5 separate regions of the Homo sapiens genome follow, and all the other regions are linked to region 1. Evidence: promoter capture Hi-C in 16 types of primary human blood cells and fetal thymus (Javierre and others, 2016). All regions are on one chromosome and are shown on one strand. Each heading gives the region's core, a stretch centred on a gene start or on the middle of the fragment in contact. The rest is flanking DNA. Distances are from core to core; before and after follow the strand shown.

Region 1 (2,882 bases), core at 209-2,708:
CCCAAGAAATCTTCAAACTCCAGGAGCGGTTGGGGAAGATAAAAAGAAATCTGGAGTGGCCTAAGAGTTAGAATGGGAGGGGAACGGTGCTAGGGCAAGAAGAGATTATACTGGGATCAGTATAGTAAAGATCAGTAAAGAGAAGATAAGAACGCGGTCTGACCCTTTCCAAGCCCATTATGTCCATCAGAAGAGATGACGAGGAGCAGGAAACTGAAGCCCAGCAAACAGGTGGCCCCGAGACGAGGCCGCGTCTCCATGGCAGTAGGTGCGCGGGGCCACGGGGCTGAGCGGACGCAGGGCCGGAGTCCCAGCAGACGGTCCACACAGTTCGCCGAGCGCCGCTCAGCACAACACCTCTACTTCCCAGATTTTTTTTTTTCAAACTCTGAAGGAAGTGATGTTAGACGGATGTGGGTGGTGCCTCCGGGGTCCGGTTTGGGATGGAGTGAGCTTAAAGGTGCAGATCACGTAGAAGGGTACGAGAGCTGTTCTCGAGCGCGAGTTGCTTTTCGTGGATTCTGGGTGTCCAGGTCCCGGGACGGAGCGGGAAAATGTAGGCCAAGATAGTAGGGGCGGGGGAGAGGTTCGGGAGAACCGTTGCTCCTCGCGTCCGCCACCCAGTCCAGCCCCTCCCCCCAAGAACCGCTGCACTTCCTAGTCAAAAGCAAATTATTGATTCGTGAGGTCAGTCGCTCCCAACAGTGGGCGGATTGCCCACTGGCCTCGGATTCTCCTTACCCCTCCACAAATCAAGACTGGACAACTGGATTTCATTGTTAGGTTCCTGCGAGGGTCTCTGAGGAGACCTGGCAAGCCTGTTCTGCGGTGCGTGGGCTCGTGCCGTGCAGACATGCACTTTCCCGCTGGAGAAGCTCTGTACCTTATTTTTCCTTGCAACCGCAAATCTTCTACTCAGGGATGATGCAACCAACTGATGCAAGCTCCAAGAAAACCAAACTTGGGACCTCTTATTGCAAAACTGACTTAGGTGGACTTAGGACACCAGGATATAAGTCACTGCAGGCTAAAGTGTAAAGCTTCTGGTTATTTTTCTTGTAGCTTGAGGATTTCTTCCCAATTTTTCCCCTTCGCTGTATAACAAACAGGTGAAAATGTCCGGTCTTTTTCTTCCTGGTACTAGTTGAGTCCTAAAGTCCGTACTTAATGCATAGCGAAAAAGCGACCTAACAAAAGTACACACCCAAATAAAAACATACCGACCACCCTTTTATTAGGTTCCCTAAAATTGTAGGCAGGGACACAACAGAACGCTCGGGAGACTGCAAGCCCCAGGATGCCGCGCGGCCACCTGCACCTGCCGCCACTAGCACTAAGAGGGATGCGCAAAGCAGGCGGGGCGTTGGAGTTCAGATGTTCGCTCCCGGGATAGGCTGCCCCGGAGAGGGAGAGGCGGGGTCGGCTGTATCACGTGGATCTGCTCCCGCCGCCGCCGCCGCCGCCGTCGTCTTTCTCTGTCTCGGCTGAGGCAGCCATCTTTCTCTTGCCGCGTGCTGGTGTTGGAGGACCCTCCCTGCTTCAGGTGAGACCCCCGGCGGTCCCGCCACTTCACGGCCATAGGCCGCTGCGCACGGTCTCCCCCCGCCCTCCCCTTCCGACACCCGCCAACCGCTCAGGCTGCCACTTCCGCCGTGGTGCGGCGAGCGGGGGCGGAGGCGGCTGGCTTGGCCTGTCGGTTACCGGCGGCGCAGCTGGGGGTCGGCACCTGTGGGAAGGTCCCCAGCACCACCGCCCCCTGTGGGAGCGAGCGGGCCCGCCCTGTTGCCGCCCAGACCCTGTCCCAGGAGGCAGGTGGACGCCCCTCCTCTGTTCCATTACTCCTTGCTCACAACAGCAGTGTTGTGTGCTTTGAGCTTTATACAGGCTCTCTGTTGTCATCTCATTTGATGCTCCCAGTCTACAGATAGGGAAGCTGAGGTTACCACTTCCCGCCCTTGAGTCCAGGGAACCGAACTCAGTTACAGCACTCTTCACCTTGTAATGGCAGTGTTTGTTTACAAGTCGGCGTCCCTTGCCCATCTTTATAACCCCCCTCCCACTGCCTGCTGACCGACAGGCTCAGTGTTGCACAGCTAGTGAATGGCGGTTTCAACTTCCGTTCCCACATTCTTGCAGTTTACCATAGTTGTCCCCTCGGGAGTGGTAACAATAGTTACCAGTAACTGTGTATCTTCTGTGAACCATTCCCTGTGGTTGATAATGTTTTAACCCTCAAAACAACCCTGTGAAGTACGTGGTGTTATACCTTTCCAAATGCAGGAGGAATACAAGTTCAGAGAAGAAAAATACCTTTCCCAACTGGTAGAACCTTGGTCTTTCTGATTCCAAAGCCTGTGCTTGTCTTAGAGAAACCCTACATAATAAAAAGTCAGGACTCAAGGTTGCAATTATTTTTATCTCTGTGTAAACATGATGTATGTGAAAGTGCCTACCACAATGCTTCTAACTTAGGCACTTAATAAATATAAACCTGTTTACACCCTTTCTTGAGTCCTTGAGAACAGTGCTAAAAGATCCTGGAATCCCCAAGGAAGAACTCATTAATCATGTGGCTTTAGGAAGTTACTTCTCCCTTTTGGGCCTAGGAAGGGACTTCTCCCTTCTGGGCCCTTATTTCCTAATCTATTAAGATGGGAGGGAGGGAACTGTTTCGTTTGTAATTTATACTTTGCTGGTGCTAGCAGATGTTGAGATGACATCACAGATAGGAATGATGGGTGCAATAAAGTAGAGGTTGATTGAGAATAGAGAATTAAACCAGGTGATCTTGGAGGTCTACTCCAGATTCTGAGCTTGACATCGCATAGACTGAGTCCAGTCCTCTTTCCTACTTGAATTCCACACACCACAACTTGCCAAGA
Region 2 (2,882 bases), core at 104-2,603, 870 kb after region 1:
AAATGACACGTGTTCATGGCTGTACATTGCAGCATTGTTTATAATAGCAAAAGACTGGAAGCACATGGTGCTGTCATGTGCTTCTGGTGAGGCCTCAGGAAGCTTACAATCATGGCTGAAGGTGACAGGGATCCAGCATGTCACATGGCGAGAATAGGAACAAGAAAATTAGGTGGGGAGGTCCCAGTTTATCGCCAAGGGGATGGTGCTAAACCATTCACAAGGGATCTGTCCCCATGATCCAGTCACCTCCCAACAGGGCCCACCTCCAACATTGGGAATCATATTTCAACGTGAGATTTGGAGGGATCCAACACCCAAACTATATCACAGTCTCAATATCCATCAATAGAGGGTTGGTTAAATAAATTATGGGGCTGTGTGTGGTGGCTCACCCTATTATTCCAACACTTTGGAAGGCCAAGGCAGGTAGGTCCCTGGAAGCCAGGAGTTTGAAACCAGCCTGGGAAATATAGCAAGCCCCTATCTCTACTTAAAAAAAAAAAAAAGGTACATCAATAATCTGAATACTATGCAGCTATAACAAAACACAGGAAACTGTTTATGCATTGATATGAAACAATCTTCAAAATCTATTGGTATATGAAACAAGTCAAAATGCAGAATAGTGTGTAAAGAAAGCTAAAATTTGGCCGGGTCTGGTGGCTCATGCTCATGAACCTAGCACTTTGGGAGGCCGAGACAGGAGGATTGCTTGAGGCCAGGAGTTCAAGACCAACCTAGCCAACATAGCAAAACCCCACCTCTATTGAAAGAAATAATAAAGAAAACAAAAATTTGTGTTAACAAGGGGGATAAGAGTATGCATGTGTATATTTGATTGTATTTACATAAAACATCTTTGGAAGGATAGGGAAGAAGAACCGAGAGGCTGGGAATAAGGGTAAGAGAGACAAGTTTTACGGTTTGACCTGTTATACGTTTTTGGACACAGGATGTTGTTGTTGCCCAGATTGGAGTGCAGTGGCAGTATCTTGGCTCACTGCAGCTTCTGCCTCCCGGGCTCAGGTGATCCTTCCACCTCACCCTCCTGAGTAGCTGGGACCACAGGTACATGCCACAACATTGGCTAATTTTTGTATTTCTTGTAGAGACGGGGTTTTGCCATGTTGCCAAGGTTGGTCTCGAACTCCTGAGCTCAGGCGATTTGTCCACCTTGGCCTTCCAAAGTGCTGGGATTACAGGTGTGAACCACCATGCCTGGCCCCTTTTATACTTTTTGAATCTTGATTTTTGTTTTAAGTATAACTTACTCAAAATAAATAATGAAAATGAAAACAAAGCACAATAACAAAAATTAAAAACATGCCTTAGCAAAAATAAAACTAATATATACACAAAATCAAAACATACAAACTAGCCAGGCCCGGTGGCTCATGCCTGTAATCCCAGCACTTTAGGAGGCTGAGGTGGGTGGGTCACCTGAGGTCAGGAGTTCAAGACCAGCCTGGCCAACATGGTGAAACCCTGTCTCTACTAAAAATACAAAAATTAGCCAGGCGTGGTTGTGGGCAGCTGTAATCCCAGCTACTCAGGAGGCTGAGGTGCAAGAATCGCTTGAACCCAGGAGGTGGAGGTTGTAGTGAGCTGAGATCACACCACTGCACTCCAACCTGGGCAACAGAGTGAGATTCTGTCTTAAAAAAAAAAAAGAAGCAAAAACAAAACATACAAACTATAATTGGGTATAAGATTAAAAGAAAAACCTTCCCTCCTCCATATTCCATGCATTTATTGTATTCTATTTTATTGAGACAGGGTCTCACTCTGTTGCCCACATTGGAGTACAGTGGTGCAGTCAGTTCACTACAACCTCAGACTCCTGGGCTCAGGGGATCCTCCCGTCTCAGCCTTCCGAGTAGCTGGGACTACAGGAGTGGGCCACCACACTTGGCTCATTGTTAAATTTTTTGTAGAGACAGAGGTCTCCCTATGTTGCCAGGCTGGTCTCAAACACCTGGCCTCAAGTGATCCTCCCACCTCAGCCTCCCAAAGTGCTGGGATTACAGGTGTGAGCCCCCATGCCTGGCATCCACCCATTTAAAAAGATTTTTCTTGTTTTTTCTTCTTTTTTTTTAGAGATAGGGAGCTATGTTGCCCAGGTTGGTCTTGAATTCTTGGGCTCAATCAATCCTCCCATTTTGGCCTCCCAAAGTGCTGGGATTACAGGCATGAGCCACTGTGCCTCGCTGCTTTTTGTCTTTTTGTATTAACAGAAAAGGTCTCACTATGCTGTCCAGGCTGGAGTGCAGTGGCTATTCACAGGCATAATCGTAGCTCACTGCAGCCTTGAACTCCTGGACTCAAGCAGCCTTTCTGCCTCAGCTCCTCAAGTAGATGGGATTACAGTCTCGTACCACCACACCCAGCTTAAAATGATATTTATTGTATTTTATCTGGCATTTCTGGGTGTTTTTTTTTGGTATACTTATTCATGCCACAAAGTAAGTGGTACTTATATAAGTGTACAGTGATTTTCCAGGTTCCTTTCTAACATAGCTTGCTTAAATTCACAGGTCGACTAATGTTTCATTTCATGTGCATGCTAAGTGAAGCTGGTTAGTGATGACCATAAGCAGGTGGAGAAGCTTTCAATATTTTACTTATTTTATCAGTACTCCTGATTTTATAAATGATGAGGCTCATTAACCCCATTCCTACTCAAATCTCCTGATAAACTTGGTTATAATAGGGCTTCATGGGGATCCAAACATTTTTAATAATGTTTTGAAGCATCTTGGTGTGGGACAAACAGCTCAGGCTACCCCAGAGCCCCACATCCAATGACTTAGAAAAGTCTGTGTTTTATAGTGGGAAAAGTTTGGATTATTTAGTCCTTCACATTGGAAAGGGAAGTGTTT
Region 3 (2,882 bases), core at 247-2,746, 670 kb after region 1:
TTTTCGCTGCTCTTCCTTGCTCTTCTCACCCCTCTTCACCATTTTATCTCCACTGCCCCCTTCTCTCCGTGTTCCTTCTCCCCTTCGTCCTCTTCCATCCACGTTTCCTCTTCCCTTATCGGATGTCCTCGCTCGGTTCGCCGTCGCAGCTGTCCCCATTTCCTTCTACGGGCTTCAGGGGTCTAAGCAGGAACAATTTGAGGACTGTTGCTTCCCGGGAGCTGTAGGGCGGGCAGATAGGGATTTATAGGTTTGCTTCTTCCTTTTCGTTTTTGGAGGCATTGAAGAGATCCTGGAAGCCTATTCACCTAGTGTCATTGCAAAATCGAAGTGGTGGTGTGTTACAGAGCAGTGAAGTGAGGGCCAGCATGCATACTGTGACCTCAGGAGAGATCTAGTCTTTTGACAGAAATAGCTAAAAAATGTTTTGAATTTTTTTTATTTTGAGCATCTTTTAATGTGGAGGTGCAGTTGGAGAAGTTTAAAAATACTTATTTACAAGCTTGGCTATTATTACTAAAAACAAATGATTTGTTTTCATTTGGAGGCAGAGACCAAGGGCATTTGAGGACTGACAATCAGGTTGGCAGGTTGTGACAGTCTCTTTAAACCTTCTAAAGAGTTCATTTGTTTTGCCCTGTCTGCCTTTAGTTGGGAGAACCTTATATTTGCAAATTTTCTTTCTGTCTGAAAATAGGTTGAGGCTTCAGTTGGTTTTTTCATTGAGTTGGGTTATAAGTGGTTTGCTGTACATTTATTGAAAACATTGCTCCATCATATGCAACAAGCTAAATTTTGGTCTCTGGGAGGAATAAGGCAAAACTAAGTCCTGATAATTATGTTCCCCTAGGAGGTTAGTCAGTTTCTTTTTTTCCCTCCAGCAGTTTTTTAGAAAAGTAATATACTATAAAATTATTTAATCTATGAATTTTCCCTAACTCACTCCTGCATTTTTAGTCTGTCATTTTCCTGTGTTTGTCTCCTTCACTTTCACACACTGTTGTTGTATGCTAACCTGTTTCTCCCTGTGGAATGTAAGTTCTAGGTAGCAACCGTTCCTTACTTATTATTCCAAGTGCCCAGGCCAGCTAGGTGCTTGAATGATTCACTTTATGGTCTCATTTCCCACCTGACTAATATAAACTTAAACTGAAATTTGAGGTAACTAGTGGACTACACAGAAAGAGTGAGTTTGAGAATTGTTGTTTGGAGACGATCTTGCTCTGTGGCCCAGGCTGGAATGCAGTGGCACAATCATGGCTCTTTGCAACCTTGAACTCCTGAGGTCAAGTGATCTTCCCACCTCAGCCTCACAAGTAGCTGGTACCACAGGCACGGACTACCGTGCCCCGCTAATTTGTAAAACTTTTTGTAGAAATGGAGTCTTGCTGTGTTGCCCAGTCTGGTCTTGACCTCCTGGATTCAAGCCATCCTCCCACCTTGGCCTCCCAAAGTGCTAGAATTACAGGCATGAGCCATCACGCCTGGGCAGAGAATCTTAATTTTGATGCAAAAATGATATTGAGTGAGGTATGATGATATACTTTTCAGAATAAAGAGCTATCCTACCTAAGACATTACACTGCTAGATTTTTGAAAGTGTGGGCCCTTCCATTGAGAATGAATGTATGAGAGGGAGGAGTTATGAACTCCCCTTTGAGGTATTTAGGATCTAAAAGTGTCCTTTGAGCTGGGCCTGAAAGTTGAATAGGATTTATATAGATCATTTTGGGAAGGGGAAGAATGCCTCATTGTGAATGTGAGTAGCAAGTAGAAAGGATCCCCTCACAGGGATTTTTTTTTTTTTAAGAAAGAAAGTAGGAAGGAATTAGGATGCATTGTAGGAAGTAGTATTACCCTTATATAGCATGGAAGGATGCAAGAATGGAGATGTGTAGTAGGAAATGAGGCTAGCAAGATACTGTCTTAGCCCATTCAATCTACTGTAACAAAATACCATAAACTAGGTAGCTTGTCAGCAACAGAAATTTATTTCTCAGAGTTTGGAAGGCTGGGAAGTCCAAAATCAGTTCCCCAGTGGATTCAGTGTCTCGTGAGGGCTCTTCCTAAGTCACCTTTTCACTGTTTTCACACATGGTGGCAGGGGCCAGGCAGCTCTCTGGAGTCTCTTTTATAAGGGCACTAATCCCATTCATGTGGGCACTAACTGGTGATCTAATCACCTCCCAAAGGCCCCACCTCCTCATACCATTACCTTGGGGGTTAGGATTCCAACATATGAATTTAGGGAGACAGAATTCAGACCACAGCAGACATATTAGGCATGATTATGTTTTAAACTTTGCATCTAATTAACTTGATTTTTCCTTGCTTGTTAAAACATATACACACAGAGTAACAGTGTATGTATGGGAGAGGTGAGGAGAAGGCAGAATATTAGCTTATTTTGAGCTAGGAATTATCAGTAGAGGCCACTTTCTCGTGCAATATTTTTGTAGATAATAAATACAGTTGAATGAATGATTATTATAAAGCTTTGTATTTTATATTTGTTAAATGTTAATTAGGTTGTGTTTGAATAGTTGAGATGTTTAAGATGTCAGGAGTTCGAGACCAGCCTGGCCAACATGGCAAAGCCTCGTCTCTACTAAAAATACAAAAATTAGCTGGGTGTGGTGGCACATGCCTGTAATCCCAGCTACTCGGGAGGCTGAGGTAGGAGAATCACTTGAACCCAGGAGGTGGAGGTTGCAGTGAACTGAGGGCAGGGCCTGAGAGGTGGCAGTTCTTTTTTTTTTGAGGCAGGGTCTTGCTCTGTCCCTAAGCTGAAGTGCAGTGGCATGATCACAGCTCACTGCAGCCTTGACTTCCCAGGCTCAAGCGATCCTCTCACCTCAGCCTCCCAAGTAGCTGGGACCACA
Region 4 (2,882 bases), core at 175-2,674, 650 kb after region 1:
TTATTTATTGGAAGGCAGCCAATAATGTCTGAAATCCCAGTTTTATTTTTTAAATTCATAGGATTTTACATTCATTTCCCCATAATACATCTTTCATAGGATAACAGAAGATTGCCTTTTCTCCCCCAAGCCTTTGAGTAAAATTGACATTCCAGGCAATATACCACATTTACCTGTGGTTTCTTATACCCTGATCACCTTAGGGGACTCCTCAGTACACATGGCCCAGGATGGGAATCCTTGAACTTTGGTTTGAGGTCATCTTCTTTAGGATGGCCTTCAAGACCCTGTGCAATCTGATTCTAGCCTTATTTTCTGCCTCTCTTCCCCCACATCCCACCAACCTTCTGTTCTCTGAATAGATCCCAAGTTTGTGTCCCTGTTTACCTCTGCTCTTGATGCCTGGACCACCCTTTTTGACACAAATCGGAAATACTCTCCTATGTAAAGTCTTCCCAGACACAACAATTACACACATTCAAATTAGATTTAGATGCTCCCATTTTGGTGTTCCACACCACTTGGTTTATTCTGGTATAGTGTAGTAGGAAAGAAAGAACTGGCTTTGGAGTGGGGACAGATCTTAGTTCAGAATCCATGTTCCATGTTTATTAAATTGTAACCTTAAACCAATCATGTTTGTGAGTCTGAATCCTCTTCTGTAAATGCAGATCCATTTGTAATGGCTGTCAGAAGGACTACAAGTTCATGTATGCAATGTGCTTGGCAGAGCGCCTGGCTCAAAGTCATTCCTGTTCCAGGAATGTTTCTTGTCATGCCAATAATGGCATGAAAGTCTGTGTTCCCCACCAGACTGTGACCTCTGTGTCCTGTATGCTGGTCACAGGGCCAAGAATAGAATAGGGCTTGATGATAGAATAGAGCAGGGTGATGTCGATTACTAAAATCTGGGAATGTTTCCCTTTATTTTCTGAGTTGAACTGCATTGAAATGAGATCACCTGAGCGGTAGAGGGCACAAGAGAGTTAGTTGGTGATGAGAGGCTCAACCAAGTAAGAGGTCACTTTTTTTTGTTTTGCTCTTTCATCCAGGCTAGAGTGCAGTGGCGTGATTTTGGCTCACCGCAACCTCCGCCTTACGGTTTCAAGCAATTCTCCTGCCTCAGCCTCCTGAATAGCTGGGATTACAGGCGCCCACCACAATGCCCGCCTAATTTTTGTATTTTTAGTAGAGATGGGGTTTCACCATATCGGCCAGGCTGGTCTCGAACTCCTGACCTCGTGATCCGTTTGAACTAACTGTTGCCTCTGCCCTAGAGTGCTTTTCCCCTGTATTTTTTTTTTTTTTTTGGCTTGCCTTCTTAAGTTCTCTGCTTCAATTTGACATCGTCCATGTGGTCTTAGCTCATTCTTGTTATAATAACAGTGTCTTGATTGTGCCCAGCAATATTAGGTGCCCAAGTATTGTTGACTGAATTAAGAAGAGGGATTATCATTCCAAATAATTTGGTTTTCATTAATGGAACTTAGAATATCACTGACTCTTGCTCTTTTGACCCAGGTTTTTCTTAAAGCTATAAGAAACATTAAATGAAGGTCTAATTGACATACAGGAAACTGCACATAACTTTAAAGTAACAATTATGAGTTTCTACATATGTATACACCTGTAAACCATTATCACAATCAAGATAATGAGCATATTCATCACCTCAAAATTTCCTCATGTGACTTTGTACTTCATTCCCTCCCCAGCAACCATTAATCTGCTTTCTGTCACTGAAGATGGGTTGCATTTTGTAGGATATTATCTAAATAGAATGATACAGTAAGTACTGTTTCTTTTTGTATAGTTTCTTCGATTCAGCATAATTATTTTGAGATTCATCCATGTTACCACACGTATTAATAGTTCATTCTTTTTCTTAGTGAATGACATTTCATGATGTAGATATATCACAATTTGTTTATCCATTTGGGTTTCCAGTTTTTGGCTTACAAATAAAGCTGCTGTGAATATTTGTGTACGTGTCTTTGTATGGGCATTCATTTCCATTTTTGGGGTTCATACCTAGGAGTGGAATGGCTAGATCATATGGTAGGTATATATCTAACTTTAAGAAACACCCAAACTGTTTTCTAAAGTGATTCTACCATTACATTCTTACCAGCAGTGTTTGACAGTTCTAGTTGCCCTACATCCTCACCATAATTTGATGTGTGGTCAGTCTTTTAAAATTTTAGCCATTATAGTGAATATAACAGTATCTTATCATAGGTTTAGTTTGTATTTTTTTGAGTGACCAATAATGTTGGCATCTTTTCATGTGCTTATCTGCCATCTGTGTATCTTTGATGACATGTTTGTTAAAATCTTTCGCCCCCTTTTTATTGGATTGTTTTTTATTATTGCATTCTAAGAGTTATTTATATATTCAAGTCCGTTATCAGAAGTTTTGCATATATTTTCTCCCAGTTTGGCCTGCCTTTTTTGTTTTTATAACAGTGTCTTTCAAAACCAAAAGTTTTTCATTTTAATGGTGTGTCTAGTTTATTGATTTTTTTCCTCTTGTTAATAGTTTGTGCTTTTTCTTTCGTATTCAAGAAGTCTTTGCCAAACCCAAAGTCACTAAGATTTTATCCTATATTTTCTTGTAGAAATTTTATGGTTTAAATCTTATATTTAGAAAGCCTATGATCCATTTCAGATTAATTTTTGTATGAGGTATGAGATAACAGTTGAGGTTCACTTTATTGCATGTGGGTTTATAATTACTCTAGCACCATTTGTTAGAAAGATTATCCATTCTCGGCCTCCCAACGCGTTGGGATTACAGGCGTGAGCCACCGCTCCAGGCCTCGGGATAGGTCTTAATACCTCCTTTTTATAAAGGAGGTCCAGATAAGTAAAGTGATTTCCAC
Region 5 (2,882 bases), core at 113-2,612, 580 kb after region 1:
TGAAAAATACTCACTGACCCTCTAGTGTCTTCTGGGCACTGTGCTGGCCCCTGGGGACACAGAGGTGAGTAATTCTCTCAGCACCCAGCCAGGACCCTTTCCCTCTTCCACTAACCCCTTCCCTACACAGCTCTTGTGTCTTGTGGTCCCTTCCGTTGCCCTGGAAACTCTGACGTGGCATGCTTTAGTGGCTCAGACAATGCTTTCTTCGGGGGTTGGATGGGCTGATCTCTGGGGTAACATCCCATGTCAGTGTGTTCCCATTCTGTGACCCCAAGGTGGCTAAAGGCTCTAGGGTGACTCTTCCTGGACTCAGACATAATGTGATTCATAAATACCACAGACAATTGCAAAGTGCAGGAGAGGAACTGAAAGTCCTCAGGATGTCTAGGGCATCAACGTGCTCTGAACCTTGAAATAACTCTTCCGGCATGCTCCTAACAGAGCCCGGATATTGCAGGGTGGAGACCTTGTTTTGCTGTAAATTCCGTTTGGCCCTTTTCATGAAAGTCAGTCCTTAAAAACTTCAAAATCTCCAGGTAAGCACTGTTTCCTGGGAGAGACAGTGCTCAAGGAGAATTGCTATCTTTAAAATTGTGCCTCAGGAAGTGAAGACACCCTGTGGAGAAGCAGTTGGTGCTGTCACACCGTCTGGTCCACTTGCCAAACACCCTCCTCCATCACTAGTTCTGTTTTTTTACGAGGGTGTGAGCCAGAAGACAGCAGCCTTGCCGGAAGGCAGAGTTTGTGGTCAGACCGTGTCTACAGCACCTCATTTCATCCTTCCCACCACCTGGTGAGATAGAAACCTTTATAAAGGAAGAAAATGAAGGTCAGAGTGGTAAAGTGATTTTTCAGCTTAAATGTGGCAGAACCAGGATTTGAACTTAGAACTACCTGACTCCAAAGCCCTTGGTTGTTAGATTGTCCCTCCAATTCTTTCTTAGGAGTCACAGTGGGTTTTTATCTTTCAGAGTCAGAACAGTAAAATCCTCGAAGACTCGAGGCTCTCTAATTCAATTTCCTACCCAGGGTAGGAATCTCTAACTTCACTGAAAGATATAACTCATTCGTGTGTCCTGCACAAGCTTCTCCCATGACAGGGACTCATCCCTGCTTGAGGCAGTACATTCACCATGGAACAACTCGGATCATTTGAAGTTCATCTCATGCCAAGCACAGATTTTCCTTCTTTGGAGCCTGCCCTGTTGTTCCCAACTCTGTCCTTGGAGTTTAGTTCCTCTGTCACCAGGACAGACCAGCAGAGACAGTGCCTGCCCCCTGACTGACCTCCGATCTGGAATGTATCACCCCAGAGTCAGGGAAGAGGATGGGCAAGAAAGCTGGAGAAAGAATGGTAGACAGGGACAAACAAAACTCTCCCCCTCACTCCTCAAAGGGCCTCTCTTAGAGGCCCCTTTCTATCCAGGAACCCAGAGTTGTCCCACACACGGGTCCCAAGCAAAGCACAATTCTCCTAGATAACAGCCCTACGAACAGTAAGCATATCTCAAATGAGAAAATAATGTTTAATTAAAGTAACTAAAGAACTAAAAAGCCCTACATACTCAATGTAAAAAATGTGAAAAGGACAAGAGAAATGAAAAGAGAAAGAAGTCATGAGTAATCCAGTGTCTAAGCTTGGATTCACCAGGAGACTCTGAGATGAGGATTTGATGGCAAGTAGTTTATGTGGAAAGTGATCCCAAAAATCACTGGTAGAGGATAAGAAAGTGAGACAGGGAGAGAAAGAAGCCAACAATGGGTGTATTACCAAGCAAATTACACCAGAGGTAACTGGAGCTTAAACTCTGCCAGCCAGTGTAGAATGTACTCCTCAGGGTTATCCCACCTGACGGCCAGGAAGCTGGATATTTAGCTAACAATTTCTGTCAGTCATCGGTCATGGGCTGGTGGGGTAAGGAAGGTATTGATTATCCTGCACTATTGACTTGCCAGTGTGTCCACAGAGCCTGTTCTGGGCCCAAGAAACCCCTCAGACAAAGAGGTAACAGCTGTTTGCAATAGAAACTTTGGCCAGGATAGCCAAGGCGGGCAGATTGCTTGAGCCTAAGAGTTGGAGACAACCTTGGGCAACATGGTGAAACCCAGTCTGTAAAAAGAAATATTAAAATTAGCTCGGTGTGGTGGCACATGCCTGTAGTCCCAGCTACTCAACAGGCTGAGGCAGGAGGATCACTTGAGCCCGGAAGGTTGAGGTTGCAGTGAGCCATGATGGTGCCACTGTACTCCAGCCTGGGTGGTAGAGTGAGATCCTGTCTCAGAAAAGAAAAAAAAAAAGAAGGAAACTTTGGCTAGAGTATCAGAATATTCCACAATGATAAGATCCAAGGGGCCCCAGACAGGACATCCACATCCTGAACTATACCCAGAGACAGCCTGTTAGTTGGTGTATCTCCATCAACCTTGCATGTGTACATGTGTATAGTTATGCATATATGTATACTTATTTAGTTAAATTGGGGTTATGCCATGTAATTAGTAGTGTGTCCTGCTCTTTTCAATTAATATTATCAATAAGTTCATAAAGATTTATCCATTATCTTAGATATTAAAATCTAGGCTGGGCGTGGTAGCTTACGCCTGTAATCCCAGCACTTTAGGAGGCCGAGGCGGGCGGATCACGAGGTCAGGAGATCGAGACCATCCTGGCTAACACGGTGAAACCCTGTCTCTATTAAAATTACAAAAAATTAGCCGGGCGTGGTGGCGGGTGCTTGTAGTCCCAGCTACTCGGGAGGCTGAGGCAGGAGAATGGCATGAACCTGGGAGGCGGAGCTTGCAGTGAGCCAAGATTGCACCACTGCACTCCAGCCGGGGCGACAGAGTGAGACTCCATCTCAAAAAACAAAACAAAACAT

What was found. The method cuts DNA at HindIII sites, captures the fragments that hold promoters and counts their contacts. A CHiCAGO score of 5 or more calls a contact.
Region 2: a contact is called between a fragment that was not itself captured here and the fragment with the promoter of BTF3L4 in region 1, in 1 of 17 cell types (naive CD4 T cells). The highest score is 5.9, in naive CD4 T cells.
Region 3: a fragment that was not itself captured here is called in contact with the fragment with the promoter of BTF3L4 in region 1 in 9 of 17 cell types (non-activated CD4 T cells, fetal thymus, naive CD4 T cells and 6 more); the score reaches 11.7 in non-activated CD4 T cells.
Region 4: a contact is called between a fragment that was not itself captured here and the fragment with the promoter of BTF3L4 in region 1, in 6 of 17 cell types (fetal thymus, non-activated CD4 T cells, total CD8 T cells and 3 more). The highest score is 15.5, in fetal thymus.
Region 5: a fragment that was not itself captured here is called in contact with the fragment with the promoter of BTF3L4 in region 1 in 1 of 17 cell types (naive CD4 T cells); the score reaches 5.5 in naive CD4 T cells.

The regions. Positions count from the first base shown.
Region 1 is chr1:52,054,837-52,057,718 of GRCh38, forward strand. It overlaps BTF3L4 (basic transcription factor 3 like 4), which reads left to right and starts at 1,459. Exons shown (of 6, transcript NM_152265.5): 1 at 1,459-1,543. It overlaps TXNDC12 (thioredoxin domain containing 12), which reads right to left and starts at 355. Exons shown (of 7, transcript NM_015913.4): 1 at 164-355. The coding sequence starts at 260. RefSeq lists silencers at 379-783, 1,644-1,883 and enhancers at 949-1,662, 1,663-2,374. The HindIII fragment of the contact is 3,174 bases long and covers 1,039-2,882 here.
Region 2 is chr1:52,922,667-52,925,548 of GRCh38, forward strand. It overlaps the pseudogene LOC100652967. Among named protein-coding and RNA genes, the nearest start is that of ECHDC2, 2.4 kb to the left of the region's middle. The HindIII fragment of the contact is 2,507 bases long and covers 101-2,607 here.
Region 3 is chr1:52,727,068-52,729,949 of GRCh38, forward strand. All of the region lies in intron 1 of ZYG11B (zyg-11 family member B, cell cycle regulator), which reads left to right. Among named protein-coding and RNA genes, the nearest start is that of ZYG11B, 2.1 kb to the left of the region's middle. The HindIII fragment of the contact is 1,993 bases long and covers 501-2,493 here.
Region 4 is chr1:52,700,098-52,702,979 of GRCh38, forward strand. No RefSeq gene overlaps it. Among named protein-coding and RNA genes, the nearest start is that of COA7, 3.2 kb to the left of the region's middle. RefSeq lists an enhancer at 2,781-2,882. The HindIII fragment of the contact is 3,859 bases long and covers 1-2,882 here.
Region 5 is chr1:52,636,890-52,639,771 of GRCh38, forward strand. The region is part of intron 1 of SHISAL2A (shisa like 2A); the gene reads left to right. Among named protein-coding and RNA genes, the nearest start is that of SHISAL2A, 5.2 kb to the left of the region's middle. RefSeq lists an enhancer at 478-637. The HindIII fragment of the contact is 552 bases long and covers 1,087-1,638 here.